Regions from separate parts of the Homo sapiens genome. Here region 2 is linked to region 1. Evidence: promoter capture Hi-C in human tissues and cell types (Jung and others, 2019). All regions are on one chromosome and are shown on one strand. The core of a region is centred on a gene start or on the middle of the fragment in contact, and the rest is flanking DNA. Distances in the headings are between cores, read along the strand shown. Region 1 overlaps TPTEP2-CSNK1E (TPTEP2-CSNK1E readthrough). Region 2 holds the start of SLC16A8 (solute carrier family 16 member 8).

Region 1 (2,700 bases), core at 192-2,691:
CTGGAATAGATCCTAGATATTGGTGATACAGTGGTGCCCAAAATAGCATTAACTCCTTCCCTTTATGCAGCTTAGACCCCAAAGTAAGGAATGCAGACAAAAAAATAAAAATTCCCTGCAGAGCATGTTAGATAGTGATGTGGAGTTCCCTACAGAGCATGTTAAATAGTGATACAGGCCAGGAGAAAAAGAGACAGGCAGCAGAGGCCCGGCCCGGCCCGGTGGCTCATGCCTGTAATCCCAGCACTTTGGGAGGCCAAGGCGGGTGGACCACCTGAGGTCGGGAGTTCAAGATCAGCCTGACCAACATGGAGAAACCCTGTCTCTACTAAAAATACAAAATTAGCCGGGCGTGGTGGCACATGCCTATAATCCCAACTACTCGGGAGGCTGAGGCAGGAGAATCGCTTGAACCCGAGAGGCGGAGGTTGCAGTGAGCCGAGATCGCGGTGAGCCGAGATCACGCCGAGCCGAGATCGCGCCATTGCACTCCAGCCTGGGCAACAAGAGCAAAACTCTATCTCAAAAAACCAACAACAACAACAACAAAAAAACAGAAACAGACAGCAGAGAAGGGGAAGGCAGTGACCCATGGGGATGGGGTTTTATTATTATTATTATTATTATTTTATTTTTAGTAGAGACAGGGTTTTCCATGTTGTCCAGGCTGGTCTCAAACTCCTAACCTCGTGATCTGCCTGCCTCGGCCTCCCAAAGTGGTGGGATTACAGGCATGAGCCACCGAGCCTGGCCTATTTTTTTTTTTTTTTTGAGATGGAATCTTGCTCTGTCATCCAGGCGGGAGTTCAGTGGCACGATCTCGGCTCACTGCAACCTCTGCCTCCCAGGCTGAAGCAATTCTCCTGCCTCAGCCTCCCAAGTAGCTGGGATTACGGGCGCACATCTCCACTCCTAGCTAATGTTTGTATTTTAGTAGAGATGGGGTTTCACCATGTTGGCCGGCTGGTCTCAAACTCCTGACCTCAAGTGATCCACCTGCCTCGGCCTCCTAACCAAAGTGCTGGGATTACAGGTGTGAGCCACTGTGCCTGGCCTTTATTATTATTATTTTTAAATTATTTATTTATTTTTATTTTTTGAGACACGGTCTCACTCTTTTTTTTTTTTTTTTGAGACAAGGTCTCACTCTGCTGTCCAGGCTGGAGTGCAGTGGTATGATCAAGGGTCACTGCAGTCTCAACCTCCTTGGGCTCCGGTGATTCTCCCACCTCAACCTCCCAAGTAGCTGGGACTACAGGCATGCACCACCACACCCAGCCACCATGCTCAGCTAATTTTTGTATTTTTTGTAGAGAGAGCATTTCGCCATGTTATCCAGGCTGGTCTCAAACTCCTGAGCTCAAGCAACGCCTGCCTCTGCCTCCCAAAGTTCTGGGATTACAGGTGTGAGGCACCGCCTGTGGCCCAGCGCCAGGATTTTAAATTGGGAGACTGGGCCCAGACGTGGTGGCTCACACCTGTAATCCCAGCTTTTTGGGAGGCTGAGGCGGACGGATCACCTGAGGTCAGGAGTTTAAGACCAGCCTGGGTAACATGGTGACACCTCCATCTCTACTAAAAATACAAAAATTAGCCAGGTATGGTGGTGGACGCCTGTAATCCCAGCTACTCTGGAGGCTGAGGCAGGAGAATTGCTTGAACCCGGGAGGCGGAGGTTGCAGTGAGCCGAGATCGGGCCACTGCATTCCAGCCTGGGAGACAGAGCCAGACTCTGTCTCAAAAAATAAATAAATAAATAAACTGGGAGACCAGGAGGGCCTACCTCTGAAGGGGACTTGAGAAAGGTGAGAGGTGAGGGGGGTTGGTGCTCTGCGGGAAGAGCGCACCAGGCAGTGGAAACAGCCCCTGCCAAGGCCCTGAGGCCAGAGGTTCATTCCATGGGAGGCCAGTGAGGCTACAGGGCTGTGAGCAAGAAGAAAACTTACAGGAGCTGAGGTCAGGAGAGCCAGGTGCGGGGAGTGGAGGACAGATCCTGGAGGGCCGTTTTCAGGCCAGCCCTTGATGTTTAGTAAATCTATGAGTCCTTAGTCAAGACTGAGATTCCTGGGGCAGGTACTGAAATCTTTCTGGGTTTATCTGCAGCCATATCGTCATTATCTGGGAATTCCAGGGCTGTCCTTGGGATCCCAGCCCAGTGCTCCTGCGTGCCAAGTGATCTTGAAGGGTCTGAAATAGGGAGCAGGTAAAAAATGTCAGTTTGGGAACACAGTGGCTCACACTTGTAATCACAGCACTTTGGGAGGGCGAGGCAGAAGGGTCACTTGAGCCCAGGAGTTTCAGACCAGTCTGGGCAACACAGTAAGACCCCATCTCTATAAAAAATTTAAAAATTAGCTGGGTGTGGTGGTGCATGCCTGTAGTCCCAGCTACTTGGAAGGCTGAGGCAGGAGGATCGCTTGAGCCCAGGAATTTGAGGCTACAGCGAGGTATGATCCTGCCACTGCACTCCAGCCTGGGTGACAGAATGAGCCTCTAAAAAAAAGACAAAAGCCAGTTTGGAAAGGTGTTGTGAGAGCCACTATTCCTGAACCAATGCAGAGCAGCTGAAACCCAGGGTGGGCCCCTTGGGAGCTGGCAATTCACCCCACACCTATTCTAGCCTGATTTCATCTTCTTGTTGGCTTGCAGAGAAGGTAGCTAGGGGAACTTTGCCACACCCTTGGGTTTTTTGTTTTGTTT
Region 2 (2,830 bases), core at 20-2,519, 240 kb after region 1:
GCCCAGCTGCCTTCCTGAGCCATGGCCAGGTGGGGATCATCTGCCCTTCTCACCCCATTCTCTCTCTCCTCCTACAGGGGCACAAATCCTTTTGCCACTGTCAAGCTTCGTCCCACCATCACCAATGACCGCTCAGCACCCCTCATCCGCTGAGGCGGGGTCCGAGGTCGTACCCCACAGTGCACCTGCCCAGGGGCTGTTCAGAGCTGGCAATGGCAGCGACAGCAGCAACAGCAGCAGATCCAAGAAGCGGGTCCCTGAGACGGGGGGTGGCTGCCCTCCCCAGACCACCCCGGCAGCCTGAGCAGCTCCAAAGCACTGGCTTGGGGTCCGAGACCTTCAAAGTAAAGCAGGCGGAATGGGGGGACAGGACAATTTCTCCCCCTCCAGGGGCTCCAGGACTCTCCCTGGGGGGCCCACCTCTTGCCCCCTAACCTCTTTCCCCCTTTTCTGCCCCCGTGGGGAGGAGCCCCTTGTACCTGCTCCGTGCCCAACACATGCCCTCTCTGTACATCTTTTGTAAATGATGAGAAATAAAGGAAGTGGACGCAAAGTGATGCGGCAGCAGGACTGGTGGTGTCTTATTTGGGGGACAGGGCAGGGGGTGAGGGATAGAGACTCCCCCATTGGAGAATGGGGTCTAGGGGGTACTGAGGTCCTGGCTGTTCCCCGGGAAGCCATCTCACTCCCAGCCCCTTGTTTGTTTGTTTGGAGAACTCTTTAGGGCTGCCCCAAAGCCCTCGCGCTGCAGCCCCCATCTCCACCTGCTCTCATTTCGACCTGTGGGTTTCCTAGGAAGTAGCGGCTGCTCGGGTCAGGGGAGAGGTGGCAGTGGCCAAGGGCTGGGACCACCAGCAAGCTGCCCTCAGGCGGCCTGGACACAGCACCCTTTGTTTTGGCCCCTCCCCCCCCCACATTCCCAGGCACAGGCGTGGATTAGCTTCATTCTAGAGAAAGCTGCCAGCCCCTCCTGGAATGTGGCCTGGGGCGGGGGGTTGGGGCGGGGGCAGATGAGGCACTGAGGTGATTAGAACCGTTGGGGTCTCTTCAGGGCAGGGCTGTGCCCCCAGCACCAGACTAGGACCCCCTGGGCAAGGTCTCTGTGTCTACCACCCCAGGCTCCAGGAGGCACAGGGATTCTCTTCCTCCCTCCTGGACTGGCTTGGGACAGGGAGCCCACCGCCGAGGCCCAGCCTGGCCTGGGGCTCCCAGTCTCTTCTCCCCTCCTGGACAAAAGCCTCTTAGCAGGGGTGAGGTGTGGTGGGGGCACACACTCTAAGCTCCAGGCCTGGGGCAGGGAGCGTCAGGCGGGAGTCGGCCAGAGGCTCAGCCCAGGCTGGTGGGAAGCTGGGGTGTCTGGCAGCCCCCATCCGGGTAAGCTTCACCGGGAGCTGCGGCGGCGGCCCCTCCCTGCAGGCCTCAGGAGATGTGAGGCTGGACCCCCAAACCCACGAGGCAGGCTCAGGTGAGTGTGATGTGAGGGCTGCCTGGGATCACCCTCCTGTCTCCACCTTCAAGTGGCTGCCCCTGTGACAAGAGGACAACAGGCAGGAAAAGCCACAACCTGGTCCTAGTGGAGGAGGGGCAGAGTCCCGGATACCCTGGGGGTGGTGGCACTGCCCAGTGCCAGGAGGGACACTCCAGGCAGGAGGGCAGGAGGCTATCCCCAGCCCCCGGCTCCTGGTGCACCTGTCTCTGAGTACACCCTCCTCATCTGTTATGGGGGCGCTTGTAACTGCTGTGAGGGCCCCGGGTGGAGCCCCAGGAATGAGACAGGCTTTGGAGCCATTCTTTTCATATAGAGGGTTTGAGGTTTGGAGGGCAGAAGGCCACTCTCTCAGTGCTGCTAAGGTTCCTACCTGTCTGGCAGAAGCCAGAGACCTGACTCCTCTCCCGCAAGATTCCCAGCTGGCCTCGGGGTGATCAATCACCCATCTTACATCGGAGGAAAGGGAGGTTGGGAGAGGGGAGGCGACCGGCCCAAGTCAGGGAGGGAATCCATGGCTGAGCTGAGATGCATGGGAACTCAGCTCCCCTGGCTGATATCTGTTGAAAGTGGCTTTTGTCCCCTTAATGTTCTAATGACAATAGTCATTTGTGATCACTGAGAAACATTAGGAACATGGCGGAAGGCTAAAGAGGAAAATCACGCACAGCGGCCCTTTGCAGCCGGCATCTGCCCCTCTGCTGTTTGTTCTGTTGTCCCGAGACCCTCACGCGTACGGGGCGACTTTGGTGCTGGACGCCCACCTCCAGGCACATACCTGCTCCACTTCCCGACGCCTTCCACCTGAGGCCCTGAGGGGCCAGCAGTTGTCCTTCAGAGGGAGCCTGCAGAGGTGCAGAGTCAGGTGGGACCCGTCGTCCTCCCCTCGTCCTTCAGCGCCCTTTGCAGGAGAAGGAGACTTGGGGTGAGAGTCCTACCTCCGTTTCCCCTTTTGGTTCCCAGACCTGAGCCACCCTCACGTGGGTAGCCCTGTGCCTCAGTTTCCCCATGCTTCGTCTCCATCCCCCTCCTTCTCTAGGCTGCTGGCCCAGCCCCTCCCTCTTGTCCCCGCCCCCTCCCAACAGAGGCAGCGATGGGCGCTGGCGGCCCCCGGCGGGGCGAGGGCCCCCCAGACGGCGGCTGGGGCTGGGTGGTGCTGGGCGCCTGCTTTGTGGTCACCGGCTTCGCCTACGGCTTCCCCAAAGCCGTGAGCGTCTTCTTCCGCGCGCTCATGCGCGACTTCGACGCCGGCTACAGCGACACGGCCTGGGTGTCCTCCATCATGCTAGCCATGCTCTACGGCACGGGTCAGTGTCCCCGCCCGGCCCTCCGCCTCCCCGGGAC

The links. The method cuts DNA at HindIII sites, captures the fragments that hold promoters and counts their contacts. A contact is called where the count stands out against the background at its distance.
Region 2: a contact is called between the fragment with the promoter of SLC16A8 here and a fragment that was not itself captured in region 1, in 3 of the 25 tissues and cell types used here (dorsolateral prefrontal cortex, lymphoblastoid cells and spleen).

The regions. Positions count from the first base shown.
Region 1 is chr22:38,320,381-38,323,080 of GRCh38, reverse strand. The region is part of intron 5 of TPTEP2-CSNK1E (TPTEP2-CSNK1E readthrough); the gene reads left to right. Among named protein-coding and RNA genes, the nearest start is that of CSNK1E, 4.3 kb to the right of the region's middle. RefSeq lists an enhancer at 16-807. The HindIII fragment of the contact is 6,679 bases long and covers 1-2,700 here.
Region 2 is chr22:38,082,623-38,085,452 of GRCh38, reverse strand. It overlaps SLC16A8 (solute carrier family 16 member 8), which reads left to right and starts at 1,269. Exons shown (of 6, transcript NM_013356.3): 1 at 1,269-1,465; 2 at 2,092-2,411; 3 at 2,572-2,793. The coding sequence starts at 2,580. It overlaps BAIAP2L2 (BAR/IMD domain containing adaptor protein 2 like 2), which reads left to right. Exons shown (of 14, transcript NM_025045.6): 14 at 78-553. The coding sequence ends at 153. RefSeq lists an enhancer at 1,004-1,785 and a silencer at 2,761-2,810. The HindIII fragment of the contact is 9,296 bases long and covers 1-2,830 here.